Regions from separate parts of the Homo sapiens genome. Here all the other regions are linked to region 1. The links are contacts of gene promoters, found by promoter capture Hi-C in human tissues and cell types (Jung and others, 2019). All regions are on one chromosome and are shown on one strand. Each heading gives the region's core, a stretch centred on a gene start or on the middle of the fragment in contact. The rest is flanking DNA. Distances are from core to core; before and after follow the strand shown. Region 1 holds the start of CHADL (chondroadherin like). Region 2 overlaps SLC25A17 (solute carrier family 25 member 17). Region 3 overlaps XPNPEP3 (X-prolyl aminopeptidase 3). Region 4 overlaps XPNPEP3 (X-prolyl aminopeptidase 3). Region 5 holds the start of POLR3H (RNA polymerase III subunit H). Region 6 has its middle 30 kb from the start of RBX1.

The links. The method cuts DNA at HindIII sites, captures the fragments that hold promoters and counts their contacts. A contact is called where the count stands out against the background at its distance.
Region 2: a fragment that was not itself captured here is called in contact with the fragment with the promoter of CHADL in region 1 in 1 of the 25 tissues and cell types used here (lymphoblastoid cells).
Region 3: a fragment that was not itself captured here is called in contact with the fragment with the promoter of CHADL in region 1 in 1 of the 25 tissues and cell types used here (lymphoblastoid cells).
Region 4: a fragment that was not itself captured here is called in contact with the fragment with the promoter of CHADL in region 1 in 2 of the 25 tissues and cell types used here (lymphoblastoid cells and spleen).
Region 5: a contact is called between the fragment with the promoter of POLR3H here and the fragment with the promoter of CHADL in region 1, in 2 of the 25 tissues and cell types used here (dorsolateral prefrontal cortex and mesenchymal stem cells).
Region 6: a fragment that was not itself captured here is called in contact with the fragment with the promoter of CHADL in region 1 in 2 of the 25 tissues and cell types used here (lymphoblastoid cells and spleen).

What each region holds. Positions count from the first base shown.
Region 1 is chr22:41,238,172-41,243,053 of GRCh38, reverse strand. It overlaps CHADL (chondroadherin like), which reads left to right and starts at 2,123. Exons shown (of 6, transcript NM_138481.2): 1 at 2,123-2,180; 2 at 3,434-3,611; 3 at 4,169-4,882. The coding sequence starts at 2,173. RefSeq lists enhancers at 1,519-2,019, 2,020-2,520, 3,970-4,557, 4,558-4,882 and a silencer at 4,833-4,882. The HindIII fragment of the contact is 27,215 bases long and covers 1-4,882 here.
Region 2 is chr22:40,778,553-40,783,434 of GRCh38, reverse strand. It overlaps SLC25A17 (solute carrier family 25 member 17), which reads left to right. Exons shown (of 9, transcript NM_006358.4): 5 at 4,310-4,426. Among named protein-coding and RNA genes, the nearest start is that of MIR4766, 33 kb to the left of the region's middle. RefSeq lists an enhancer at 871-1,370. The HindIII fragment of the contact is 3,211 bases long and covers 1,101-4,311 here.
Region 3 is chr22:40,867,666-40,872,547 of GRCh38, reverse strand. XPNPEP3 (X-prolyl aminopeptidase 3) reads right to left here. Exons shown (of 10, transcript NM_022098.4): 2 at 3,433-3,549. Among named protein-coding and RNA genes, the nearest start is that of DNAJB7, 8.0 kb to the right of the region's middle. The HindIII fragment of the contact is 4,117 bases long and covers 443-4,559 here.
Region 4 is chr22:40,885,614-40,890,495 of GRCh38, reverse strand. XPNPEP3 (X-prolyl aminopeptidase 3) reads right to left here. Exons shown (of 10, transcript NM_022098.4): 4 at 3,981-4,183. Among named protein-coding and RNA genes, the nearest start is that of DNAJB7, 26 kb to the right of the region's middle. The HindIII fragment of the contact is 5,151 bases long and covers 1-4,473 here.
Region 5 is chr22:41,541,690-41,546,571 of GRCh38, reverse strand. It overlaps POLR3H (RNA polymerase III subunit H), which reads left to right and starts at 2,102. Exons shown (of 6, transcript NM_001018050.4): 1 at 2,102-2,581. The coding sequence starts at 2,471. RefSeq lists silencers at 1,912-2,011, 2,202-2,331 and enhancers at 2,382-2,471, 2,482-2,581, 1,904-2,741. The HindIII fragment of the contact is 26,348 bases long and covers 1-4,882 here.
Region 6 is chr22:40,978,989-40,983,870 of GRCh38, reverse strand. No RefSeq gene overlaps it. Among named protein-coding and RNA genes, the nearest start is that of RBX1, 30 kb to the right of the region's middle. The HindIII fragment of the contact is 3,762 bases long and covers 584-4,345 here.

The DNA of each region.
Region 1 (4,882 bases), core at 874-3,373:
ACGAGAGCTAGACTCCGTCTCAAAAAAAAAATAAAAAGATGATTCTCACTAACATAATATTGAGTGGAAAACGCCAGACACAGCCAGGTGCAGTGGCTCATGCCTGTAATCCTAACGCTTTGGGAGGCCGAGGTGGGAGGATCACTTGTGCCCCGGAGTTCAAGACCAGCCTGGACAACATAGCAAGACCCCAACTCTACAACAAATTTTAAAACCAGCTGGAGGTGGCGGTGCATATCTGGAGGTCCCAGCTGCTTGGGAGGCTGGTATGTCAAGGCCGCAGTGAGCCATGATCACACTTCACTCACACCTGGGCAACAGTGAGACCCTGTCTCAAAAAAAGGACGAAAGAGCACACTGAAGTTCCATTGATTGGAATTTGCCAAGCAAAAAAAGCACAAAGCAGATGGCTGTGTGGCATGGCACTATTTCTTTTTTTAAAATGTTACTGCAGGGCTGGGCGTGGTGACTCATGCCTGTAATCCCAGCACTTTGGGAGATCAAGGCGGGCAGATCACTTGAGGTCAGGAGTTCGGGACCGGCCTGGCCAACATGGCGAAACCCCGTCTCTACTAAAAATGCAAAAATTAACCAGATGTGGTGGTACACATCTGTCATCCCAGCTACTTGGGAAGCTGAGGCAGGAGAATCGCATGAACCAGGGAGGTGGAGGTTGCAGTGAGCTCCAGCCTGGGCGATAAAGTGAGACTCTGTCTCAAAAAACAAAAAACTCCTGCAGTCTAGGAAAAGTACACACAGATGTTCATTGTTTAACATATATAAATATATATAAACATATACATTTATATTTTTATTATATATAAATATATACACACATAAGTGTATACACACACACATACATATATATATATATATATATATATATATATATATATATATATATATATATGTATATATTTTTTTTCTTTTTTGAGACAGTTTCACTCTGTTGCCCAGGCTAGAGTGCAGTGGCGCCATCTCGGCTCTCGCGTTCATGCCATTTGCCTGCCTCAGCCTCCCAAGTAGCTGGGACTACAGGCGCCTGCCACCACACCCGGCTAATTTTTTGTACTTTTAGTAGAGATAGGGTTTCACTGTGTTAGCCAGGATGGTCTTGATCTCGACCTCGTGATCCACCCGCCTCCGCCTCCCAAAGTGCTGGGATTACAGGCGTGAGCCACCGCGCCCGGCCTTTTTTTTTTCTCTTGAGACAGAGTCTGTGTTGCCCAGGCTGGTCTCAAACTCCTGGGCTCAAGTGATCCTCCCACCTCAGCCTCCCAAAGTGCTGGGATTACAGGCATGAGCCACTGTGCCTGACCCCTGTTTCCAATTAAAGGAACAAACAGTAGAAGATGCAATTCCATCAGAAGCAGGAATCTGAAAAATCAAGATACATGAACATTGGCCATGGTCTGGATGTATTATTTAAAAAACAAACACGAGCTTGGGAAGATGCGTATTTGGATATTCTTTGCAATATTGTTTGTAAATAGCAAAAAATTGGAGGTAGCCAATGTCCAAGATGAATGGCTAAGTCAATGTGATACATTTACACAATGGAATACTATATACCACAGAATAATGAGATTCGGAAGAGTCAATTTGGATAACTCCCAGTAATCTGAGGTTAAGTGAAAAAAATGAGTGTCTAGAATCCTGTGTGTCCAGTATTAAACTATTTATGTCAATGTGTAAGCACAAACGGAAGGAAAGGGTCACCTGTTCTGAAGCACCCACTGTGTGCCAGGTGCGGGCCTGAACCCCCACTGTGACCTCAGAGCTACTTATTAATGGGATGTGTTTTTCAGAGACTAGGAAGCAGCCTCTGGGAGGGCAGCCCACATGGCAGGAGGGAGCCCAGGACTGCTGACTCCCGGGCCAGCTGCTGGTGCCCCCTCCCTGTCGGGCTGGCCCAAGGATTCAGGCCGGGGCCTCAGTCCTCGGCTGGGGCAGGCAGGAGGCCCTGTAACTCCAGCCGCTGCTCCCGCCCGCCGCCCGCCCCTTCTTCACCTCAGCCTGGGGAAGCCTGGCTTGCCTGGTCTGCCGACAATGCCTCCCATTCAGCCCTGTCCCAGCTGCCAGGCCTGCGGGCCGTGGAGGGGGGCTCCTGCCAGGCGGGGACAGCCTGTCCCTGCGCTGCGCCTCCAGGCTGGACCAGCAGTTCCAGGCGGCATGGAGGGGTGAGTCTTTGGGCCCGATGGTGCAAGGGGGGATTCAGAGCAGCTCAGTGGCCTCAGGTAAGTCTCTGCCCCCTCTGGGCCTCTCAGAGGCTGGCGGGCAGGGGCTCTGGGGACTTCCTGGGGTTCTCCAGGAAGGGGGTCTCCCAAGGTGGGCTCTGAGACACGTGGCAATGTGGCCACTGCCAGGAACTGGTCCTCTGGGGCTTGTCTGAGAGCCCAGCAGTGGTCCCTGCATTATGAATGCTTGTCGCTTCAGCGATCTGTCCCCATGGGTCCCCTCCCTGGCCTGCCCTGAGGCACAGCCTTCACCACAGGCTCTGGAGAAGCCACCAACTCCAACGCAGGGGCTGGAGCCTGGGACCCAAAGGAGACTCCAAAACAGACGATAGTCCAGTGAGCAGCGAGGGGGAGGCTCCTGGGGGCCGGGGAACAGCCCAGCGATGGGGGAGAGGCCATGCCTGACACAGGCTGAGAACAGAGGGGCCAGCTGGGCAGGGGAGGTGATCTATCATCCTAGCGCTTTGGGAGGCCAAGGTGGGACAATCACTTGAGGCCAGGAGTTCAAGACCAGCCCGGGCAACATAGCGAGACCCTGTCTCTACCAGAAGTAATTAAAAAATTAGCCAGGCGTGGTGGTGTGTGCCTGTAGTCCCAGCTACTCAAGAGGCTGAGGTGAGAGGATCACTTTAGCCCAGGAGGTGAAGGCTGCAGTAAGCCATAGTCATTCCACTGCACTCCAGACTCCAGCCTGGGCAACAGAGCAAGGCTTGTCTCTATTTAAACAAACAAACAAAAAAAGACTCAAGGACCCGGACTGGATGCCTCCCTCCTTTCTGGGGGGTACCATTATGCTCCTGCCACCTGGGAGCTGGCATCATATCAGTCTGAGGACAGGCTGCTTCCGAGCCTACCCTGGACCAGAGCCTCACCACAGCCTGAGAACATGCTCTGAACTGGAGTCATTCTCACAGTCAGCAAGTCCTCACTGAGCCATTGGGCAGAGGCAAAGGGACTAACCAGGTCACTTTTCTGAGCCTCGGTTTCCTCCCATGTAAAACAGGACTAATCATAGGACCTCCACTGCGTGGGGGGTGGGGGGCAGGGAGGCTCAGGGTGATTGGCACTTTCCTGGGCCCAAAGGAGGAGGCTCTGAGGGGTTTTTGGGGCAGGAGCTGCACCATGGCTGGGACTAAGTGAGGGACAGCATGTGGCCTCGGCCCTTGTGCACAACAGACTCTCCCTCCCCGTCCCAGGCCCCGGAGCTCCACCCATGTCCCCTTGGTGCTGCCGCTTCTTGTACTTCTGCTGCTGGCCCCGGCTAGGCAGGCCGCCGCCCAGCGCTGCCCACAGGCCTGCATCTGTGACAACTCCAGGCGACACGTTGCCTGCCGGTACCAGAACCTCACTGAGGTGCCAGACGCCATCCCTGAGGTCAGCAGGGCAGGAGCACAGGCACAGAGTGGCAGTGGGGCAAGGTGGGGACCCAGAGGGAGGAGCCTGGGCTGGGCACCAGTTGATCTGCCACCGCCTGCCCGGGAGACCTTGGCAAATTACTTCTCTTTGAGCCTCAGTTTACACTTCTGTAAAATGGGAATAATAAAAACCAGTAACAGGGAGATGATCTATTTAAAATCCTTACTGTGTGAATGGAATAAGTAGGTGACCCATAGATCGATACTGAATTCACTGCAGACCCTGTGGTGGAGAGGCGGGCTGTGGCAGGGTGAGGTGTGGTCTCTGCTCTGCAGAGTCATCAGCTAGTGGAGGAGAGAGAGCGAGGAGGCAGGGACAGCACAGTGTGAAAAATGCCACAGTGGGTGATGCCCAGGGCACTGGAGAGGAAGGCTTCCTGGAGGAGGTGTCAGGGGTCGGATGAAGAGAAATATGGGAAAGGTGACAGGAGAAAAGAGTGTTCCGGGGAAGAAGCAGCACTTGCAAAGGCGGGGTCCCTGCCTGGCTCAGCCCCACTTTCTCCTCGCTGTCCCCAGCTGACCCAGCGGCTGGACCTGCAGGGCAATTTGCTGAAGGTGATCCCCGCAGCCGCCTTCCAGGGCGTGCCTCACCTCACACACCTGGACCTGCGCCACTGCGAGGTGGAGCTGGTGGCCGAGGGCGCCTTCCGTGGCCTGGGCCGCCTGCTCCTGCTCAACCTGGCCTCCAACCACCTGCGTGAGCTGCCCCAGGAGGCGCTGGACGGGCTGGGCTCGTTGCGGCGGCTGGAGCTGGAGGGGAACGCACTGGAGGAGCTGCGGCCGGGGACGTTCGGGGCACTGGGTGCGCTGGCCACGCTAAACCTGGCCCACAACGCCCTGGTTTACCTGCCCGCCATGGCCTTCCAGGGGCTACTGCGCGTCCGCTGGCTGCGGCTGTCGCACAACGCGCTCAGCGTGCTGGCCCCCGAGGCCCTGGCTGGCCTGCCCGCCCTGAGACGGCTCAGCCTACACCACAACGAGCTCCAGGCTCTGCCCGGGCCTGTCTTGTCCCAGGCCCGCGGCCTGGCCCGTCTGGAGCTGGGCCACAACCCGCTCACCTACGCGGGCGAGGAGGACGGGCTGGCGCTGCCCGGCCTGCGGGAGCTGCTGCTGGACGGCGGGGCCCTGCAGGCCCTGGGTCCCAGGGCCTTCGCACACTGTCCGCGCCTGCACACCCTCGACCTCCGCGGGAACCAGCTAGACACCCTGCCCCCGCTGCAGGGCCCGGGC
Region 2 (4,882 bases), core at 1,457-3,956, 460 kb after region 1:
GAAATTGTAAAGAATAAAAGGAATAATCACTTGGTGATTGGATTAGATTAGTGGTTCTCCACTGAGGCTGATTTTGACCCACAGGGTCAAATGTGGCATCTAGTGGGTAGAGGCCAGGGAGACTGCTAATCATCCTACACAAGAGCCCACATACACACACAACAAATAATTTTCCACCCCAAAATATTAGTACTGTCACAGTTGGGAGACTCTGGGTTAAAGAATTTTACAATCCTTTGTTAATTGTGAGATTCTCTGATTGTAGGTCTTCTCTTTTTCTGAAGGTTGAGAGTTCCTTGAAAATTACTTTTGTGAGTTTTAAACTTCTCTTCATAACAAGTTTTTATATCTTAATATGTACATATTTTTATAATAATTATAACAGCTTTCTTCCTGCTGTGAGTATTATAATCACTGTAGAAATGAGTTGTATCATCTCTAAGGAGAACTAGGAACAGCGTTGTTGCTCTTCAAATTCTTCTTGAAACTTAGAAATTTATTATTTATTGTATTTTCCCAGAAAAACAAGCCTATAAAGCTTCATATCTTGGGGAATAATGTGGGAACAGAACCTTAACAGATAAATGAAGAGACACTTATTTTTATGAAATTGGAATTTTTAGCAATAACTCTTACTGAATGCCAAAGGTATTATCATTGTTGTGATAGTTCAAAATGTATTTCCTGCCCTCTGGCCTTAAATCTGGCAAGACAGGTTTGTTCCTGTTGTGTGTAAAGTTTCATTCCTTCCTACGGAGTCAAGTGAGATTTGTTAGATTTGTGCCTTTGTTTTGCCATTTTCTTATATCCATGGTCATTGCACATATTTTCCAGAAGTGCATACCCAATTAGCCTACTTCGTTTGTGTTTTCTCTCCGTAACAAAGGAGACTCACTGCTGATAAAACTAATTGTTTTCAAGATTTCAGGAGTAAATAGCTGTGTTCTAATTGTTCCTTGATTTAGTGAATAATTTTAGTGTGTTCAATTACTGTTATTCATCTCTTAATTTTGGTTTATTCTTTCTTGTAAATGATTTGTTACATAAAAGAAAGAAAGAAAATAGAATTATAGACATTAGAATTAGAAAAAAAACAGTCTTCTGCCCTTTGGTAGGTAAAGTATTAATTTGTATTTCTACTTTAGAGCGGAAGTAGCATCCACAGCTTGGAACTGGCGGAAGAGTTGTTGTTGTTGTTGTTGTTGTTGTTGTTTTGAGATGGGGTCTCGCTCTGACACCCGGGCTGGAGTGCAGTAGTGCGATCTCGGCTCACTGCAACCTCCACCTTCTGGGTTCAAGCGATTCTCCTTCCTCAGCCTCCTGAGTAGCTGGGACTACAGGCGCCCGCCACCGTGCCTGGCTAATTTTTGTATTCTTAGTAGAAACAGGGTTTCGCCGTGTTGGCCAGGCTGGTCTCTAACTCCTGACCTTGTGATCCACCCGCCTCAGCCTCCCAAAGTGCTGGGATTCCAGGCGTGAGCAACCGCACCCGGCCGGAACTGGCAGAAGAGTTACACGGGCTTACAAAAAAGCAGACAATTTTCTTTATCCTTTGGGCCTGTCAGGAGTTGGAATTGGTACTCACGAATGGTTTGTGGCATGCTTCTCTCAGTGGAATGCTGACCTTTGCTTGATGATATAGGTTGCAAGTTTTAGTAAAGCTTCGGATTCTCAAGTATTTTGAGTAGCTTCTCTCAGAACTCATAAAATTATACTGGTTAAAAAATACTCCTCCATCTATTTTGGCTTAGAGAGTGAAAAAAAGTACTTGAACTTCTCAGATAAAAAGCTTTGAAATACCAAATGTTCTTACAAGGACTTTATAATCTGTTATTTAAGTAATGTGGTACATTTTTGTACTTGAGGTTGTCCTTGAGAAGAATCCTTTTAGGCCGGGTGCGGTGGCTCACACCTGTAATCCCAGCACTTTGAGAGGCCGAGGCGGGCGGATCACGAGGTCAGGAGATCGAGACCATCCTGGCTAACACGGTGAAACCCCGTCTCTACTAAAAATACAAAAAATTAGTCGGGCGCAGTGGCGGGCGCCTGTAGTCCTGGCTACTCGGGAGGCTGAGGCAGGAGAATGGTGTGAGCCGGGGAGGCGGAGCTTGCAGTGAGCCGAGATAGAACCACTGCACTCCGGCCTGGGCGAAAGAGCGAGACTCCGTCTCAAAAAAAAAAAAAAGAATCCTTTTAGTCTTTCTGCTTGTGTTAATAATGGGGATATGAAAGCAGATTTTTTTTTCTTTTTTCTTTTTTTAATAAGAAAAGGTCTCACTCTGTTGCCCAGCTCTGGAGTGCAGTGGCATGATCACAGCTCACTGCAGCCTCAACCTCCTGGGCTGAAGCGATCTTCCCACTTCAGCCTCTTGAGTAGCTGGAACCACAGGAGTGTGCCACCCTGCCTGGCTAATTTTTAATATTTTTTTTAGAGATGGAGTCTCCCTCTTTTGCCCAGGCTGCTATTGAACTCCTAGGCTCAAGTGATCCTCCCATATCAGCCTCTCAAAGTGCTAAGATTACAGGCATGAGCCACCACACTGGGCATGAAAGCAGAATTTTAAAGAATGGTTAGATCTTAATCTTAGCTGCATTGCCTCCTAAGTGTTTTTGTATGTGCCTACCTCTTAAATGAAGAAAATTTTTATTTCTGAAGAATTTATTTAACAGGCAACATATTTCACTTGTTTAGAAAGGTGGGTGCACTATACCTTTCTACGGTATCTGTGGAAGCTTGTGATCTCTGGTCCTGAGCTCTCCTGTCCTCCTTTTCTCTTAAAACAAATGCAGTAGACTGCTCAATAGCACTTTCTAGTCTGATTTTTCTGGCTGTTGGTTTTTCTCTGTTAAGTGAAGTGTGCATTGCATTGAATAGGAATACATTCTAAAATCTAGGCAAACAGGAATGTGTTAATATCCCTCTATACTGGCCTCTGGGGCATGGGTGCTTTTGAAAAAATGAGACTAGGAAGAATCTGTAACTAAGGGTTTTTTAGATTATAGGCAATGCCTCCAGTGACAATGTATGAGCCTTTTAAGTTATAACTAAAGATGACTCCTTAATGTTATGTGAATCTATAAAAATATAACAAATACGACTGATAAAATTATTAGGTGATGCCTTTTATTTTGAGAAATGTGCTCTTATAATGCTCCTTAGAGATAGGCAGCAAAATATCTTTAACAACTGTATGCAACTAATGAAAAAATTGAATTTGAATCTCTTGGCTGTTTTGTCAAGTTTATCCTTGGTTAGACTGTATTTCCTATATATAATATTTTGAGATACCTTAAATCAAAACTTTATTTCTTCAATTATCTTTAAATGGATTTTAGTAAAAGACTTCTCTTCCTTAGGATTTTTTCTCTTGGTTCTTCAGATCTTGACTAGAGCCAGACAGTTGGATGTGTGCTTTTTTACTGAGTTTGTTCATTGCTTCATTTGTTCCACTATTTATTTAACAAATGTTTATAAAGTATATACCATGTGTCAGGCACATTGTTACAATTCTATCTGGTATTTTTTTTTAATCATTTCAGGACTGGTGAGGAATATTTTAATATCTCAAGATGGTGTTAAATTGGGATCATATGTTTTCAAAAAAGAAGCACCTGGCTCATTGTATTGTTCTACTCTGAGGCAACCTTGGGGGGCCAAGATCCCCATCCTTAAGCTTGTAAGGATCATGATGCTTGTGAAGCTGTTTCAGGTGTTTTGTGACACTTACCTGATGCTTGCTGCCTGCCTATCCTAATGCTCTCAGCAAGGAGGAACTCTTCAGCGAGCTTCTAGTCTCTGTTAAGGCACTTTTAAATGTCACCACCTTTCCCCCTCCTGTCACTCATTGTACCATATCCATACTCACTTCAAACCGTGTGAGCTACTTAAGTAAGAGTTGTAAATTGTGTGTTTTATCTGATATTGTCATGGACTTAGCATGTTAGCTGTAAGCCACTCTCATCTCTAAAGCTGTTACGTTAAAATTATATTTAAAGCTATATCAAAATTGCTACTTTGAATGGTATATAAATTGACAAATAGATTGCCTGTTGTACAAATGAGGGAACTTATTGCTCTTCATCTGGAGAGCTGCTGCCGCCAGCCATTTTGCTATCAGCAAAGCTTCCAAATCGCTTCTAACAGTAGTGGCTTGTGTTGTACCCTGGCACAAAGAGACACCTTACCTTAGGTCTCCTAAGAGGTCAGTGACAGAGATATAAATGGAATATTGGTATGTAGCTTTAAAGCAGCAAAGCTTAAAAGCTGACATTTTGCCTTCCCTTTTTCTCTCCATCTTTCTTGTTAAAGGAGTGGTTAATGTGTTGCTAACAACTCCACTCTGGGTGGTAAACACCAGACTGAAGCTTCAAGGAGCAAAATTTAGGAATGAAGACATTGTACCAACAAACTACAAAGGTATCATTGGTAAGTATCTCTTTGCTGAATTCCTATTTAAGGGTTTTCTTCCTTCTTTGTATCTGGAATATGTTGCCACATAAAGCTACATAACATATCCTTTGCCCACTTTTTGATGGGTTTGTTTGATTTTTTTTCTTGTAAATTTGTTTAAGTTCTTTGTTGATTCTGGATATTAGCCCTTTGTCAGATGGGTAGATTGTAAAAATTATCTCCCATTCTGTACGTTGCCTGTTCACTCTGACGGTAGTTTCTTTTGCTGTGCAACAGCTCTTTAGTTTAATTAGATCCCATTTGTCTATTTTGGCTTTTGTTGCCATTGCTTTTACCTAATGTAAATGATGAGTTAATGGGTGCAGCAAACCGACATGGCACATATATACATATGTAACAAACCTGCACGTTGTGCACATGTCCCCTAGAACTTAAAGTATAATTAAAAAAAAATAAAAGCTGCATAACAGA
Region 3 (4,882 bases), core at 1,252-3,751, 370 kb after region 1:
ACCCGGGAGGCAGAGGTTGCAGTGAGCAGAGATTGTGTCATTGCACTCCAGCCTGGGCGACAAGAGCGAAATTCCGTCTCAAAAAAAAAAAAAAGTAGACTCACAGTTCAGAATGCCACTTGCCTTCCTACATGGAATCATTTTCATGTCTGAGTGTCAAGTGTGAGACAAGGTAGTAATCAAAGAGACTGACCAACATTTTCCATCTCTACCGATACAGACCTTAGCACAGAGATGGCACTGTCATAAAAAGCAGAAATGGTCTACAGTGCTCAGATTTCTCTAAGGAAATGACAAGTTTTGAAAATCACTAGAACCTAGCCGTAAAATCACAGAACCTAGCACAGCCAGAACAGAATTTCTTTATTTCCTGTATCATCCTGCTAAATATTTTCCAAGCTATTGATGCTTCAGGAAACTTGGATAGGTAGGTATGGCAAAGAAAAATCTAGGAAAAATAGCTCCCAAGAATTCAGAGGAACTGGCCCAGTAATTTCACTTTTGTTTTTGTTTTTGAGACAAAGTCTCACTCTGTTGCCCAAGCTGGAGTGCAATGGCGTGATCTCAGCTCACTGCAACCTCTGCCTCCCAGGTTCAAGTGATTCTCCTGCCTCAGCCTCCTGAATAGCTGGGACTACAGGCATGCGCCACCATGCCCAGCTAATTTTTCTATTTTTAGTAGAGACGGGATTTCACTATGTTGGCCAGGCTGGTCTCGAACTCCTGACCTCGTGATCCATCCACCTCAGCCTCCCAAAGTGCTGGGATTACAGGTGTGAGCCACCGCGCCTGGCCCCAGTAATTTCACTTCTAAGAATTTAAGGAAATAATAGAGCAATATGCAAAGAATGTGTACACATGTACACTTATACACACATACACCTATGTAAGAAATAGGACTAAAAAGAAACATATACCAAAATCCTCTCAACAGTGGCTTTCTCTGAGTTGTGGGATTATTAGTAATTAAAAAAAAAATCTATGCTTACCTGTATTCTCTTTTTCTGTATGTATAGAACTTGCGTAATAATTAGGAAAGGCATTGAGATGTTTCCCAAAAGTATTAAGTACATACTGCCATGTATTAGAGAAATATGCAAAACATGAAACCTTTTGGAGAAACCAAGTGCACATTACATAATTTTATATCCTAAACTAACAAGCCAACTGCGTAAGAGACTTTTTTTGAGAGAGAGAGACACGGTCTCATTCTGTCACCCAAGATGGAGTGCAGAGGCATGATCACAGCTCACTGCATCCTTGACCTCCTGGGCTCATGCAATCCTCCCACCTGAGTCCCCCGAGTAGCTGAGACTATAGGCAGGAGCACTAATTTTTTTTATTTCTTATAGAGACAGGGTCTTGCTATGTTGCCTATGCTCGTCTCGAACTCCTAACCTCAAGTGATCCTCTCATCTTGTCTTTCCAAAGTGTTGGGATTATAGGCGTGAGCCACTGTACCTGGCCTAAGAGACTTTTTAAGTATTACATGCCTTTAAATTTTTTTTCCTTTTTTTTTGAGACAGAGTCTCCCTCTGTCCCCCAAGCTGGAGTGCAGTGGCACAATTCTGGCTCACTGCAACCTCCGCCTCCCAGATTCAGGTGATTCTCCTGCCTCAGCCTCCCCAGTAGCTGAGATTATAGGCATATGCCACCACACCCGGCTAATTTTTTTTTTGGGGGGTATTTTTAGTAGAGACAGGATTTCACCATATTGGTTAGGCTGGTCTCAAACTCCTGGCCTCAGGTGATCCACCCACCTTGGCCTCCCAAAGTTCTGGGATTACATGTATGAGCCACTGCGCCCGGCCCCTTTTAATTTTTCTTAAAAATTTACTCTGCTTCACCCTACAATCACTTTAACACTTCCACAAGTTTTGCATCTCTGGAAGGAGAAACACAAATGATTAATTCTTTTGATACTTTTGTCTGCAGAAAAATCTGTACCTAATGGTACATCTGATAGTTTGAGGTTTAAAATACTAATAATTCTGTTTTAAAATTCCATCTACTTCCATCCCTTCTCACTTACCCCAATGTCCAAAATCCCACGTCTAGGAGAGTAAAATTAGGACAGGCATCCCTTTTCCCCCAGATATTCACATACATATGTATGTGAACATATACGTGTACATATTTATTTACATTCACTTATACTTAACATGCACTTAAGGTATAGAGCAAAAAAATCTAGATACAGAGGCCATTATCTTGACAATATAATTACTAGGTTTAAGGCCTGGAAAATGCAGCTTACCATGTAAAAATATCTCACCACAAGAAATCAGTAATTTTCAAAGCTGGTAAAACTATCAATTCTACTTAAAAAAATAACTCGAGTCTACAGGTAGGTTGATAGGGTAGATAAATACTAAAATTAATACCAACTGGGTTGCTATTAAGCTTACCTTACAGCTTTGAAAAACTCTGATTTCTTGTGGGTTTCAGTGGTGAGCTGCATTTCCTTAGTTTCAGCCGACTTCCCAGCAGGAATTCGAGTCTGATGAAAAATCAGCAAAAGGAAGCCCTCACTGAGAAACATACTGGTATCATTCACTGAGTGGGGATAGTGAAAAAGGAACATATTTCTAAAGGTAAATTTCCATTAGTAATATATATGCTTATATGGCAAATACATATTTAATTTCTTATGGCAGAAAGAACAATTAATTTTCCTTGAAAACCTGATTGCTTTTTCTACAATGTGTTTGCTTTTACCCTACCTTCCTCTCTGAGATATTCATTAGTCATAGTTCACCCCTTAAGTGCAAGAAATCAAAACAAAAAACCTTTAGGTCTAAATTTGAGCAATAGTTATAAGACATCTTCTGGCAGCAACGCTGGGATCTTATAGCAGAAAAAAAAATTAGTAAAACAAACCTTTATCATTTTTTTGCATCACCTTTATCAACTGGGATACTACCTCTCAAATCTGTGACAAACAAATCTGGAAATCTTGCTTAATCTATATAGAAATAGGTTATAATTTTAAAGTAAATATTTGATAATTTCAAGAAAAAACATGTTTTCTAAAATGTCTTTAACACAGTAATTCACAATAGTATACAATTCTAAAAGCTGACTTAGAAATAGAACTTTGCTTTAAAAACATCCTGAAATACATACCTTTCATTAATTATTCTGAATTATAAGGTCTATCATATTTAAACCTTGTTCTAGACTAGTATTGTCAATAAAGCACCAGTACCCACATGTAGTTAAGCTTAAATTTAAATTAATTAAAATTAAATAAAATAAAAAGTTCAGCTCCTCAGCTGTACTAGCAACCTTATTAGTGTAAAATGGCCATGTGAGGTTAGTGGCTACCTTATGGAACAGCACAGATCCAGAGCTTACTGCAAGAAGTTCTATTGCATAGCATTGCTCTAGACAGAACCTAAATGGGGAGATAGCACAGTTAAAAGGCCTTACCTGGTCTGAGGAGGTGTGGGTGTGTAAAGGGGCTGGGCTGGCCTAAGTATCGGTTTGGAATCCTCCTTTCTGGGACAGGCTGAAGGGAGTACCTTCGCTGTGAACACAACATACATCCTGAATGAAGAATAAAGAGAATGAAATGAAACAATAGATCTAGAAAGTCTTCATGGTATAAATACACTTATCTCTAGCAGTTTAGATGCTTTAGAAAAATGCAAACTAATATTTCCTTCCTTCTCTCCTTCAATATTCATTTATTTTTTTTTTAAGACAGAGTCTCACTCTGTCACCCAGGCTGGAGTCAGTGGCATGATCTCGGCTCACTGCAACCTCCACCTCCTGGGTTCAAGTGATTCTCCTGCCTCAAGCCTCCTACATAGCTGGGATTACAGGTGCGTGCCACCATGTCTGGCTAATTTTTGTAGAGACGGGGTTTAATCCTGTTGGCCAGGCTGGTCTCGAACTCTTGACCTCAAGTGATCCGCCCACCTCGGCCTCCCAAAGTGTTGGGATTACAGGCATGAGCCACTGCACCTGGCCCTCCTTCAATATTTATATGGCCTTTGCTCTGTGTCAGACTCTGTGTTGGGCCTTAGGAAAACAGAAATGAGATCTTTACCCTCAGAGACATTTGTCTGCTATAATATTTTATACACATACACACACACACACACACACACACACGCACACATATATAATAAAGGTATGAATAAGGAGCTATGAAAACAGAAGAAAGGAACCAAAAAAGGCAGGGGAAGGATATCACAGAGGCAGTTTGAAAGGGTATCACAGAGATAGCATAAAGCTGTGTCCTAAAACTCAGGAAAAGATAATCAACATTTTTTATTGAGAATATGTTAAGCATGAGAAAATATGCACATGCTATCTCATTTAATCTTGGAATGTCAGAGCTAGATAAAATAATTTATGAAAAATGCTTAATCATAGAGTACAACAAATGTTAGTTATTAGCATTAATTAAAAAATTCTTTGCACATGATTGGAACATGCTCAAAGAAAGACACATGAATGACAAGGCTATATGCTGTGGTCTTTAAAGAATGCACAGTCTAGTGGAGGTGAGACAAAATAGAGCATTACAATATTAAATGGTGAATGCAACAGTGGATTCACACATAAGGAGTTTTGTTTGTTGGGTTTTTTTTTTTTTTTTTTGAGACAGGTCTCACTCTGTCGCCCAGGCTGGAGTGTAGTGGCATGATCATAGCTCACTGCAGCTTTGTTCCTCTGGGCTTAGGCAATAAATGAAATGAAACAATAGATCTAGAAAGTCTTCATGGTATAAATGCACTTATCCATCTCCAACAGTTTGGATGCTTTAGAAAAATGCAAACTAATATTTCCTTCCTTCTCTCCTTCAATATTTATTCATTTATTTATTTTTAAGACAGAGTCTCACTCTGTTGCCCAGGCTGGAGTCAGTGGC
Region 4 (4,882 bases), core at 649-3,148, 350 kb after region 1:
ACGATCACATCTCATCGCAGCTTCAACTGCCCCAGCTCAAGTGATCGTCCTACCTCAGCCTCCCAAGCAGTTGGGACCACCACACTTGGCTATTTTAAAAAAATTTTTGTAGAGATGGGGGGGTCTCTCCATGTTGCCCAGGCTAGTCTTGAACTCCTAAGCTTAAGTGATTCTCCTGCCTCAGCCTCCCAAAGTGCTGGGATTACAGGTGTGAGCCACCACACCTGGCCTTAATTTTTATTTTAATGTAAGCCTTTAGCAGCTAAATTTTGTCTGACTTCTCACTTCAATGGTACTGCTATATGATGTAATATAGGGGTCAGGTAAAATTAATATTTTAGGAGCTTATAAAATTTAGTATAATACTGATGATGATGATCAAATACATTGAGAGACTGAATTAAAGTCCTGTTGGGATGTTATCCCTATGGAGGAGAATTGGCTTGATGAATATTTAGACTTGATTAATGATAGATTATTATTTTTAATAACTCAGCAGATATATACCATGAAGTGCAGAAAACTGTGGATCAAGGAGGCCAAAGGACTGTACAGTTCGTACAAAAACACAAGAAAGTGTAATTGGATAATTCAGCTGTCTGTTTAAATCAGTACCAACCCTTCACTGATCATTGTAAATGTTTGGATTCTGTGTATGCATTTTTTTAGAGACAGTGTTTGCTCTGTCACCAAGGCTGGAGTGCAGTGATGTGATAATACTTCACTGTAACCTTAAACTTTTGGGCTCAAGTGATCCTTCTGCCTCAGCCTCCAGAGTAGCTAGGACTACAGGCATATGCCACAATGCCTGGCTAATTAAAATATCTTTTTTTGTAGAGGTGAGGTCTTGCCATGTTGCCAGGCTGGTCTCTAACTCCTCGCTGCCTCACGTGATCCTCCCACCTTGGCCTCAGTGCTGAGATTATAGGGGTGAGCCACTATGCCCTGCTTGTCTATGTATTTTGATTATCTATATGATATTGAGAAGTGAAGTAACTGTTGTCAACTCAGGATTACTGTTTTATCAAAAAATAGAGTTAATGTTGGTTATGGGGGTAGAGTGAACTGTTGTGCTAATTCCAGGTTTAGAATTAGCCAGAGCTATTTTGCTAAAGTTCCTTCCTTGGTCAAGGTGTGGCAGGAAACATACTGACTGAAAGTGTTAAGAGGATGCTGGACATGTTGGCTCATGCCTGTGATCTTAGTGTTTTGGGAGGCTGAGGATGGAAGATCTCTTGAGGCCAGGAGTTCAACACCAGCCTGGATAATATAGTGACACCCCATCTCTACAAAAACCTAAAAACAGCCATGGTGGTATGTGCCTGTAATCCAAGCTACTCAGGAGGCTGAGGCAAGAGTATCCCCTAAGTCCAGGAATTCAAGGTTGCAGTAAGCTATGATCTCACCATGCACTCCAACCTGAGCAATAGCGAGACACTGTCTCAAAAAGAAAAAACAAAACAAAACAAAACAAAACAAAAAAAAAACCATTAGGAAGGCAGGAAGCACATAAAAAGATGCCCAACACCACTAATCATTAGGGAAATACAAATCCAAACCACAGTAAGATACCACTTCACACACATTAGGATTGGCTATTGCCACAAAAACAGAACAAATGTTGGTGTAGAGTGGAGAAATTGAAACCCTTGGTGCGTTGCTAGTGGGAATGTGAAACGGTGCAGCCACTATGGATAACAGTATGGTGGTCCTCAAAATATTAAACATAAAATTACCATTTGATCTAGCAACTCCAGTTGTGTGTATATACCAAATGGAATTAAAAGAGACTTGAACACAAGATATTTGTACACTTATGTTTACAGCAACATTATTCACAATAGTAAAAAAAAAAAAAAGATAGAAACCAAATGTTTATCAATGGATGAATAGACAAATAAAATATGGCATACGCATACAATGGAATATTATTCAGTCTTTAAAAAGAATGAAGCTGGGCATGGCAGCTCATACCTGTAATCCCAGCACTTTGGGAGGTCAAGGTGGGCGGACTGCTTGAGCTCAGGAGTTCGAGACTAGCCTGGACAACACTGAGAAACCCTGTCTCTACAAAAAATTTAAAAAATTAGCAGGCATAGTGGCATGCACCAATGGTCCCAGCTACTTGGGAGGCTAAGGTGGGAGGATCACTTGAACCCAGGAGGTCGAGACTGCAGTGAGCTGTGATCATGCTACTGCACTCTAGTCTGGGCAACAGAGCGAGACTCTATCTAAAAAACAAAAGTGAAATTCTAATGGAAGAAATTTAAAAACATTATGCTAAGTGAGATAAGCCAGTCACAAAAAGCCAAATGTTGTATGATTCCATTTATATGAAGTAGCTAGAATAGGTAGATTCACAGAGAAAGTAGAGGTTACTGGGGGCTGGAGGAGGGGAGAATGGGAAGTTATTATTTATCTGTACAGTTTCTATTTGGAATGATGGAGAAAGTCGGGAAAAAGTGGGCACAACAATGTGAATGTACTTAATGTCATTGATTTGCATACTTAAAAACGGTTAAAATGATATATTTTATGTTATGCACATTTCACCACAGTAAAAAGATTTTTTTAAATTAAGTCAATGGCCAACACCTTGGAGAGAATAAATGAAATAGGGAGTTTTGGGATAGTTTCTATCAGTTTGCCAGTGAGATTTATGGTTTACACTTGGTCTCTGTGAAAACTCTCGGGGGGCTTTACTGTTACGTAGCAGGAATATGATTATGTGACCAAAAAAACAAAAATCCCTAGCTGAGATTCCATTTTGGAGTCTCTGATTCTGAGGTAGTCTGTTGCATGTGCCATGGACTGAATTGTGTTTCCCGCAGAATTAATGTGTTAAAGCTCTAATCTCTATGTCTTTAGGAGGTAGTTAAGGTTAAATTAGGTAATTAAGGGTGGGGCTCTAATTTGATAGGACCATGGCCTTGTAAAAAGGCCCTCTTTCACTGTCATGTAAGGACACAGCAAGAAAGCCGCCTTCTGTAAGCCGGGAGAGCCCTCACCAGAAATGGACCATGATGGCACCTTGATCTCGGACTTCCAGACTGCAAAATTATGAGACAATACATTTCTCTTGTTTAAGCCATGCAGACTGTGATATTTTGTAATGGCAGCCTGAGCAGAGTATGACAACACTGGTGATTCCTAATCTGTAAGAGAAAGATACATCCTGCCTGGCCCTCACCTAGGGAGGACCAGAGAAGCCTGCACCTGGCTTCTCTAGACTCCTTGCTTTGAGACAGCCATTGGCTGTGATATATATCCTTACTTTCATATTATGGTTATTTTTTACCCTTTTCCTATAATAAACTGCAGATCTGTAAGCATTGTCACTTTGGGTCCTGAGTCTTTCTTAGAACCAAACTGTTTAACTGACACTATTAGTGTAACTATAAGGAAAAGAAACAGTATTAATTTCTGTCGTTCTAAGGAGAAATAATTAAGATTGATGGGTAAAAGAACCATCTTAACAGAAGGCAGATTTACTTTGTCTTGCAAGGTATTAAGCAAGTCTCTAGGTATGTTCACTACACACTGGAGCAGAAGCTAGATGCCATTCTGCGGTGAGGAGACTGCTGCATTGGGTATACGACCTCAAGAGCTTACGATTTTTCCAATCTGGAAAAAACTTTTTCTTTTTTTCTTGTTTTTTTTTTTTTTTTTGAGATGGAGTCTCGCTCTGTCGCCCAGGCTGGAGTGCAGTGGCCCGATCTCGGCTCACTGCAAGCTCTGCCTCCCGGGTTCACACCATTCTCCTGCCTCAGCCTACCGAGTAGCTGGGACTACAGGAGCCCGCCACCATGCCCGGCTAATTTTTTATGTTTTTTTAGTAGAGACGGGGTTTCACCATGTTAGCCAGGATGGTCTCGATCTCCTGACCTCATGATCCACCTGCCTCGGCCTCCCAAAGTGCTTGGATTACAGGCGTGAGCCACCGCGCCCGGCTGGAAAAAACTTTTCAATAGGAATCATACCTGTGATGTCAGCTTCCCAGCAATCTGCATTCGTTCAATTTCTGCAGGAGACTTGATCAGCCGGAGGCGCTGTATCAGCTGCTGAACACCCCGAACCTTGTTCTTGCTCTTGGCTTTGGCCTCAGTCAGGGGCTGCATATAGTCAGAGTGAAGCTGTGCATGTGAGGGCCTCATCCAGTCATACCAAACCATGTTCGTCTCAGCTTAGAATGAGAAGCCGAAAAATAAATTTAAAACAAAACTACCAGCAACAAGAAATATCAACTGTCATAACGACTTGAACAAGAGTCAAAACTATAAAACCTGTAACGTGGAACTCTAAAGTGTTGAGACTTAAGACTCTCTCAGGACTGAAGCAATAAAGGTTTGATTATAAATCATTAGAAAGGTCATTCCCTGGAAATGGCAAGATATTCTAAGACTGAATATACAGCTTTTCTGCCCCTAAACTTCAGTGTTCTTTATAAAGGATGATACGGGACTAAAGCTTTAGTCAAGCTTTGATTTTCTCTCTTTCTCTCTCTCTTTATTTTTGAGATGGAGTCTTGCTCTGTTGCCCAGGCTGGAGTGCAGTGGCACAATCTCAGCTCACTGCAACCTCCGCCTCCCAGGTTCAAACGATTCTTCTGCCTCAGCCTCCCAAGTAGCTGGGACTACAGGTGCCCGCCACCATGCCCAGCTAATTTTTGTATTTTCAGTAGAGATGAGGTTTCACCATATTGGTCAGGCTGGTCTCGAACTCCTGACTTGTGATCCACCCGCCTCAGTCTCCCAAAGTGCTGAGATTACAGGCGTGAATCACCATGCCCGGCCTTCATTATTAAACAATTAGAACAACTGTTCTTCACCACCACTTACTGAGCTAGAGGCACTTGTTGAATAATTGCACACAGAAGGACAGA
Region 5 (4,882 bases), core at 853-3,352, 300 kb before region 1:
TGACCAGATATTGGCTAGTCACGGTGGCTCATGCCTGTAATCTCAGCACTTTGAGAGGCCAAGATGGGGGGGATCACCTGAGGTCAGGAGTTCGAAACCAGCCTGGCCAACATGGTGAAATCTTATCTAAAAATACAAAAGTTAGCTAAGTGTGGTGGTGGGCACCTGTAATTCCAGCTATTTGGGAAGCTGAGGCAGGAGAATCGCTTGAACCCAGGAGGTGGAGGTTGCATTGAGCTGAGATCATGCCACTGCACTCCAGTCTGGGCGACAGAGCAAGATTCCGTCTCAAAAGAAAAAAAAAAGAAAAGGCCTGAACCGAAGCAATAGCAGTGGGAGTGGAATGAAGAGGAAACATTTGAGAGGAAGAATTAATGGTAATCCCTAAACACCTTTACTCAATGCTTCCTAGGAATGTGTTAGGGGATTGTGGGAATAAAGAGCTGAAGTAGCATTTGCTGCTGTCCTCAAGTACCTCAAATCCTATAGAAGCACACCTAAAAATAAAATCATAGATGCAGGGAAGGCCACATTTAGCATCACTGCAGCCAGTGTCACTGAGAGATCACTATGCTTGTGAAATCAGCAAATTAAGGCACCATACATTTCCAAGTGCCTCTGTCATTTACCCCAAGTATCTTTTGTAAGTACCTAAATTGTTATTTTGGTTAAAACACACTACAAGCCCGGGCGCGGTGGCTCACACCTGTAATCCCAGCACTTTGGAAGGCTGAGGTGGGCAGATCATGAGGTCAGGAGATCGAGACCATCCTGGCTAACACGGTGAAACCTCGTCTCTACTAAAAAAAAATACGAAAAATTAGCCAGGCGTGATGGTGGGCGCCTGTAGTCTCAGCTACTCGGGAGGCTAAGGCAGGAGAATGGCGTGAACCCGAGAGGCGGAGCTTGCAGTGAGCCAAGATCGCGCCACTGCACTCCAGCCTGGGCGACAGAGCGATCCTCCGTCTCAAACAAACAAACAAACAAAAAAACCCACTACAGTATACATCTACACCCCACCAATTTTTAGAGGCAGGGTAGTGAGGTTCAGACTGGGCCCACCTCTACCACTTGTCAACACGTGATCTTGGGTAAGCTACCAAATTCTCTTAGCCCATGCTATCACGTGAAGATGAATGAGACTGGAATGTCAGCGAGACAGAGCATGATGGGGCTATAGGAGGGGGGTATGGTCAGATCTTGCAGGGCCGTGTGAACTACCATAAAGGTTTTGGACTTTTCTTCTTTCTTTCTTCTTTTCTTTCTTCTTTCCCTTTTCTTTCTTCTTTCTTCTTCTTCTTCTCCTTCTTCTTTCTTCTTCTTCCGCCTCTCCTTCTTCTTCTTTTTCGTTTAGACATGAGGTGTCACTGTCACCCATGCTAGAGTGCAGCATGCAACCTCAAACTGCAACCTCAAACTCCTGGACTCAAGCGATGCTGCTGTCTCAGGCTTCTGAGTAGGTGGGACTACGGGTGTACACCACCACGCCCGGCTTGGATCTAGTATTCTAAGTTCAATGGGTTGTGTTTTTTGTTCCAATTTATTATAACTTTTCAATTGGAACATAATGTCTACAAATAAATGCAAAAATCTTGCCGAGTTCAATTAGTTTGGACAATTATATACGTCAATGTTATACCACCGAAAACAAAATACAGAACATTTCCATCATCTCAGAACAGTCCCAAGTGCCCCTTTCCTGCTAATTCTCCTTGTCTCCGGAACACTTAAGGGTGCTAAGCATGTTATGTTTGCGGTGGGTTTTTTTTTTAACTTAGATGTGGTAATATATGTTTGCGTTTCCAAAGGATCACTCTGGCTGCCGAGCAGAGGACAGCAATGCGGGTAAAGCACAGGCCAGGCGAGGGATAATCAGGCGGGATTGCACGGAGGTCGCCTAGCAACAGAAAGCGCTGTCGGGGGCGGGGGAACCGCTCTGCTCCTGTGAAAGGAGGAGGCCCCGCCCTCTCCTCGCCCTCTCTCTGCCCCACGCTGTGCGCGAGCACACAGGCAGCCCCGCCCCGCCTCGGCGGGGTGGGGGTGGACAGAGGTTTCTTATTGGTGAGTTTTCCGGAAGCGATGGATTCGGAATCTCGCCCGCAGTCGCGCAAGCGCGAGCGGCTGTGCGCGGTGCGTGGTGCGTGGTGCGTGATACGAGCGGCGGCACGTGGCGCGGGTGCGGGGCGTGGAGTGGCGTGGCGTGGAGTGGCGTGGCGTGGCGGGGTCTCGCGGCGCGGGCGCGCACCCGGAGCTGTGGACGGAGAGTGCCTCCCTCTGGCCTCAGTTTCCTCATGTTGTAGTAGCGGAGCATGGCCCGGACCGGGCCCCCGAGACCGCCCCGTGCAACCTCACCGCCAGCCTGGGGGCCTCAGCGACTGGGACGGGACCAAGGGGCTCGGGGATTCTCCCTGCCCCCGGCCCTGGTGCGTGACTGACCCTCCTGTTCCCAGAGCCCCCAGCGCAGGCCGGGATGTTCGTCCTGGTGGAAATGGTGGACACCGTCCGGATCCCCCCTTGGCAGTTTGAGAGGAAGCTCAACGACTCCATTGCCGAGGAGCTGAACAAGAAGTTGGCCAACAAGGTACTGGGCCCACGGCTCGCGGGCAGGCCTTGGCGTGGGAGAGCGAGCGCCGCCCACTGGCCGCAGGCCCGGCCTCGGTCATGCCAAGCCCTGGCCGTGGGCAAGCAGCTTAATGTCTCAGAACTTTTCTTCACCGTGAAAGGAGATATTGAAGGGGATCAAAAGAAAATGGGCTTGAAAAAGGGAGTTGTAACTGGAAGTGTTAGATTCCACAATTCTAAATTACTTTGCAATTGCAGGCAAGTTACTGACCCCTTCTGGGCCTCAGTTTCCATTTTTAAAATGGGGATAAAATATTGCTGTCCTTCCAGCCATGCATTGTTTTTGTTGTTGTTGTTGTTTGTTTTGTTTTGTTTTGTTTTTTGTTTTTGAGACGGAGTCTTGCTCTTTCGTCCAGGCTGGAGTGCAGTGGCGCGATCTCGGCTCACTGCAACCTCCGCCTCCCGGGTTCAAGCGATTCTCCTGCCCCAGCCTCCCGAGTAGCTGGGACAACTACAGGCGCGCGCCACCACCCCCAGCTAATTTTTGTATTTTTCGTAGAGACGGGGTTTCACCATTTTGGCCAGGATGGTCTCGATCTCTTGATCCCCCCGCCTCGGCCTCCCAAAGTGCTGGGATTACAGGTGTGCGCCATCGCCTCGGGTCAATGCATTGTTTTCGTGAAGATGGAGAGTTCTAGTAGTACAGAATTAACTGTCAGGAGGTTCATCCCTTCATTCCAGCAGCCAATATTTGTGCGCCTTCTCTGTGCTGTGCCTGTGTGCCTTAGTACCAGCTGAGAGGTCTTCCCACTGCCGTTTCTTTGACAGTCCTCCCTTTCCAGGTATTCTGTGTCACATCACTCTCTTTCCTTCTTAGACTTTTTCCTTTCCCTCTCCTTGAGAGCAGGGACCTTATCTGCCTTCTTCCCTGAAGTATCCCCTCATTTAGCCAAAGCCTGGCGGGAGTAGATGTCCCATAATTTTCTGTTTTGTGTTTGTGTGTGTGAGACAAGAGTGCCGCTCTTGTCGCCCAGGCTGGGGTGCAATGAAGCGATCTTGGCTCACTGCAACCTCCACCTCCCAGGTTCAAGCTATTCTTCTGCTTCAGCCTCCTGAGTAGCTGGGATTACAGGCACCTGCCACCACACCTGGCTAATTTTTGTACTTTTAGTAGAGACGGGGTTTCACCATGTTGGCCAGGCTGGTCTCAAACTTCTGACCTCAGGTGATCTGCCTGCCTCAGCCTCCCAAAGTGCTGGAATTACAGGTGTGAGCCACCGTGCCCGGCCATTTGTTGACTGAATGAATGAAACAGAGACAAGGCTCTGTGCTATAGTGTGGTGGGAAAGCAGATATGAATGAGAAGGGTCCACAGTTGAGTGTTTGGTGACAAATTGAGGTAAATGTTATGAGGGACAGGTGTTCACACACCTGTGGAACAAAGGAACGTCCCCTGGAATGAGGGGACCTGCAGCTTTGTTGAGGAGGTGGGGTTGAAGGTGAGATCTGATGGTGAAGTGGAGCCAACCAGAGGATTCCTTTCTAGGGTGGGAGGGGGCTGGGTGGAGAGAAGAGCCCTGAAGGCAGGAACTGGCATGTGCAAAGGCCCTGTGAAGAAGGAATACAGGCCGGGCGTGGGGGCTCACACCTGTAATCCCACCACTTTGGGAGGCTGAGGCGGGTGGATCACCCAAGGTCAGGAGTTTGAGACCAGCCTGTCCAACATGGTGAAGCCCCATGTCTACTAAAAATACAAAAAATAGCTGGGCATGGTGGCAGGCACCTGTAATCCCGGCTACTTGGGAGGCAGAGGGAGAAGAATCACTTGAACCCAGGAGGCAGAGGTTGCAGTGAGCTGAAATCGCACCACTGCCTTCCAGCCTGGGTGACAAGAGTGAAACTTCGCTTCAAAAAAAAAAGAAGAAGGGGTAAAATACCCACCATGGTGTGGAAGAGGCTGGTGTGGCTTGGGCAGAGGGGAGGGTGGGCTGGACAGGTGGGTGGGGGCCAGGCCACACAGCCCTGTAGGATGTCGGAGTTGAGGTATTGGTCTTTATCCGTGGAGCATCAGAAGGTGATGGGCTGAGAAGGAGCCAGAAAGAGGATGCTTAGCTGGCTTTACGCATGAGACAGGTCCCTTCAGAAGAGGTGAGGTTGATTTGGGGGTTGCTAGATAGTGAAGGGAACTCATGGAGTCTTTAAGTGGATGGCTTCTGGTTACTTTGTGAGGTTGAAGATGAGGGTCTGTTGGGGGATGGAGGTGTGGACCTTGAGAGAGAAGGTGTGGAAAGTCCAAGAAGGGAATATAGTCCCTTTGGGG
Region 6 (4,882 bases), core at 1,215-3,714, 260 kb after region 1:
GCATGATCTTGGCTCACTGCAACTTCCATCTCCCAGGTTCAAGCGATTCTCCTACCCCAGCCTCCTGAGTACCTGGGACTACAGGCGCCCGTCACCACGCCCAGCTATTTTTTGTATTTTCAGTAGAGACGGGGTTTCGCCATGTTGGCCAGGCTGGTCTCAAACTCCTGACCTCAAATGATCCACCCACCTTGGCCTCCCAAAGTGCTGGGATTACAGGCGTGAGCCACTGCTCCTGGCCCACAAATTGTTTTTATGAACAAGTTGCTATGCTCTATTCCTCGGACTTCAGACACATGGACTGGAAGAGGATCAGGTGACTGTGGCAAGGGCAGCCATCTCTGGAGGTCAGTGCCCTGTGAGCTGGGCTAGCGTGAACAGTCCTGCCCAATCACCTGTTTCTTGTGGACAGATGAAACGCAAGGCTTACGTGGAGATTTGTGCAGCAGAGACACAGAAACCCAGAGATCCACAGAGATGACAGCTAAAAGTAGAAGTTGAGGCAGTAGAAGCTTTAAGCATGCAGGAGTACGCAGGAGTAAGGCGGCGGAGAGGCCGTGGTGGTTGCAGGAGCTGTTGGTCCCCTGCGCTGTATCCCCTTGGGGCTTCTTAGTCCACCTGCAGGTGTAGGCGGTGGTTCCCTGCACACACAAGCTTCACTTCAGTACCCCCATCTCTCTGCTTCTCAGCCTGAGGGGTTTTTTTCTGGAGCAGTGAACACTTGCTCAGCCTTTTGTGCAGGGTAACCCAGAAGGGCCACGGATTTAAAACCTCCAGGCCCTGGCTCAGTACCTGGGCTTCCCATCCCTGGGCGTGCAGTGCTGTGCTGTGCTCTGCACGTCCCCACAGCGGGCCTGGCGGGGGACTGAGCCCAGTTGTCCGCAGAGGTGACCTGCTCAGTGTCTTTCCTCACTCCCCTGTCTCTCATTCCCTCTCCCGCGCTGTGCTTCCTGGAATCAACTCCAAAATAAGCTACCAAGTTCTCGTCTCAGGCTCTTCTTCAGGGGAATCTAAATTTAGACAGTGGCACTAGAAGAAAAGAGAAGCAGCAACAAAAATCTGCTGTGGGTGCTGAGAAGCAGCGGACACTTCTGCAGGGACAACCAGATGGAGGCCTGCGGCCTACTGAGCGACATTCCAGTCTCCCAGGCCAGATTGCGCAGACAGGGAGGATTTCCTGTGAACCTGCTGTGCTACCAGTGTGCTTGAGGGAACCCGAGAAGTCTCTGGTCCTTTCAACCTGAAGGGACTGAACCAGCCTTCTCCTATGGAGAGCTGCTGTTTGTTAGGCACCTACTATGTGTCCAGCTCTGTGGCAGGCGCTTCACTTTCAACTCTCATTCTCTTGACAACTTGCAAGGGAGGTAATATCTTAAAAAACAAAGTAGGCCAGGCGCGGTGGCTCACACCTGTAATCCCAGCACTTCGGGAGGCCGAGATGGGCGGATCACCTGAGGTCAGGAGTTCGAGACCAGCCTGACCAACATGGTAAAACCCTGTCTTTACTAAAAATACAAAATTAGCTGGGTGTGGTGGCACATGCCTGTAATCCCAGCTACCCAGGAGGCTGAGGCGGGAGAATCGCCTGAACCCAGGAGGCAGAGGTTGCACTGAACCAAGGCCGTGCCATTGCGCTCCAGCCTGGGAAACAAGAGCGAAACTCCATCTCAAAAAAAAAAAAAAAAAAAAAAAAGCCAGGATTGGTGGCACATGCCTGCAGTCCCAGCTACTCAGGAGGCAGAGGCAGAAGAATCGCTTCAACCCGGGAGGTGGAGGTTGCAGTGAGCTGAAATTGCGCCACTGCACTCCAGCCTGGGGGAGAGAGGGAGACTCTGTCTCAAAAACAAAAACAAAAACAAAACAAACAAAAAACAACAGCAACAACAAAAACAAAGTAGGAAGTAGGCCAGGCATGGTGACTTATGCCTGTAATCCCAGTAATTTGGGAGGTCAGGAATTCGAGACCATCCTGACCAACATGACAAAACCCCGTCTCTACTAAAAATACAATAATTAGCCGGGCATGGTGGCACATGCCTGTAGCCCCAGCTATTCAGGAGGCTGAGGCAGGAGAATCGCTTGAACCTGGGAGGCGGAGGTTGCAGTGGCCATGATCGTGCCACTGCACTCCAGCCTAGGGTGACAGAGTGAGACTACATCTCAAAAAAAATAGGATGAAAGACCTACATCTAAGAACTAAAACACAAAAACTCTTAGATGAAAATATAGGGGCAAATATTCATGATGTTGGATTTGACAACAATTTATTAAATGTGACACCAAAAGAAAAAACAAATAGATTGCAATTCATCAAAGTTAAAAACTTTTGTGTATCAAAGGATATTATGGGTTTTGTTGTTGTTGTTGTTTGTTTGTTTGTTTGAGACAGAGTTTCCCTCTATTGCCCAGGCTGGAGCGCAGTGGTGTGATCTCGGCTCACTGCAGCCTTCACCTCCCAGGCTCAAGCAAGCTATCCTCCCACCTCAGCCTCCTGAGTAGCTGGGTCTACAGGCGTGTGGCACCATGCCTGGCTAATTTTTGAATTTTTCTGTAGAGACGGGGTTTCACCACCTTGCTCAGGCTGGTCTCAAACTCCTGGGCTCAAGCGAACCTCCTGTCTTGGCCTCCTAAAGTGCTGGGATTACAAGTGTAAGCCACCACGTCCAGCTGGGATACTATCAAGAGAGTGAAAAGGCAACCCACAGAATGGAAGCAAATTTTTGCAAATAATATATCTGGTAACGATTTAATATCCACATTATATAAAAAGTTCCAACAACTCACCACCACCAAAAAACCCCCCAAAAAACAAAAACCCCAAAAACCAACCCAATTAAAAAATGGCAAAGGGGCCAGGCATGGTGGCTCATGCCTGTAATTCCAGCACTTTGGGAGACTGAGGTGGGCAGCTCACTTGAGGTCAGGAGGTCGAGGCCAGCCTGGCCAACATGGTGAAACCCTGTCTCTACTAAAATTACAAAATTTAGCCAGGCATGGTGGTGGACGCCTGTAATCCTAGCTACTCGGGAGGCTGAGGAAGGAGAATTGCTTGAACCTGGGAGGCAGAGGTGACAGTGAGCCCAGATCTCACCACTGCACTCCAGCTTGAGCAACAGAATAAAACTCTGTCTTGGTCAGGCACGGTGGTTCACGCCTATAATCCCAGCACTTTGAGAGGCCGAGTGGGCAAATCACAAGGTCAAGAGATAGGGACCATCCTGGCCAACACGGTGAAACCCCGTCTCTACTAAAAATACAAAAATTAGCTGGGTGTGGTGGCGGGCGCCTGTGGTCCCAGCTACTCGGGACGCTGAGGCAGGAGAATGGCATGAACCTGGGAGGCGGAGGTTGCAGTAGGCCGAGATCGCGCCACTGCACTCCAGCCTGGCGACAGAGTGAGACTCCGACTCAAAAAAAAAAAAAAAAAAAAGACTCTGTCTCAAAAAACAAAACAAAACAAAAACCAAAAATGGCTAAGAAAGAAGCCATGAAAAGATGCTCAACAGCATCAAAACCACAAATAGTTCTTATTCCCCAGGATGGCTATTATCAAAATTTGTAAAATGACAAGTGTTGGCAAGGATGTCGCTGTGGACTGAATTGTACCCCTCCCTGCAAATTCATATGTTGAAGCCCTAACTCCTAGTATGACTGTATTTGGAGATAACGTCTTTTGGAGATAATTAAGCTTAACTGAGGTAAAAGTTGGGGAGCTAATCCAATAGGACTGGTGTCTTAGAAGAAGAGAAAGAAGAGTCCGGGCTTCCCATCCCTGGGCGTGCAGTGCTGTGCTGTGCTCTGCATGTCCCCACAGCGGGCCTGGTGGGGGACTGAGCCCAGTTGCCTGCAGAGGTGACCTGCTCGGTGGCTTTCCTCACTCCCCTGTCTCTCATTCCCTCTCCCGCGCTGTGCTTCCTGGAATCAACTCCAAAATAAGCTACCAAGTTCTCGTCTCAGGCTCTTCTTTAGGGGAATCTAAATTTAGACAGTGGCACTAGAAGAAAAGAGGAGCAGCAACAAAAATCTGCTGTGGGTGCTGAGAAGCAGCGAACACTTCTGCAGGGACAACCAGATGAGCCCTGGGCTATCACCCAGAGCTCTCTCTCTCTCCAAAGGCCATGTCAGGATGCAGCAGGAAGGCAGCCGTCTACAAGCCAGGAAGAGAGCCCTCATCAGAAACTGAATTTACTGGCACCTTGATCTTGGACTTCCGGCCTCCAGAACAGAATAGAAAATAAATTTCTGTTGTTGAAGCTGCCCAATCTATGGTATTTTGTTAGAACAGCCTTAGTAGACTAATACAAATTTGGAAAAATTGAAGTGCATTGCTGGTGGGAATGTAAAATAGTATGTGGAAAAATCTGGCAATTACTAAAAAAGCTAAACATAGAATTTACTGTATGACCCAACAATTCTACTTCTCGATATATACCCAAAAGAACTGAAAGCAGGGTCTCCTAGAGACATATGTATACATTGTGTTTATTGCGACATTGTTTGTGACAGCCAAAAGGTTAAAAAAAACAAAAAACAAAAAACAAAAAACAAGCAGCCAGGCGCAGTGGCTCACGCCTGTAATCCCAGCAATTTGGGAGGCCGAGGTGGGCAGATCACCTGAGGTCAGGCGTTCAAGACCAGCCTGGCCAACACTGCGAAACCCCATCTCTACTAAAAAATACAAAAATTAGTCCGGTCCTGATGCCTCACGCCTGTAACCCCAGCACTTTGGGAGGCCGAGGTGGGAGGATCACCTGAGGTCAGGAGTTCGAAACCAGCCTGACCAACATGGTGAAACCCCATCTCTACTAAAAATACAAAAATTAGTTGGGTGTCGTGGTGCATGCCTGTAATCCTAGCTCCAGGGAGACTGAGGCAGGAGAAT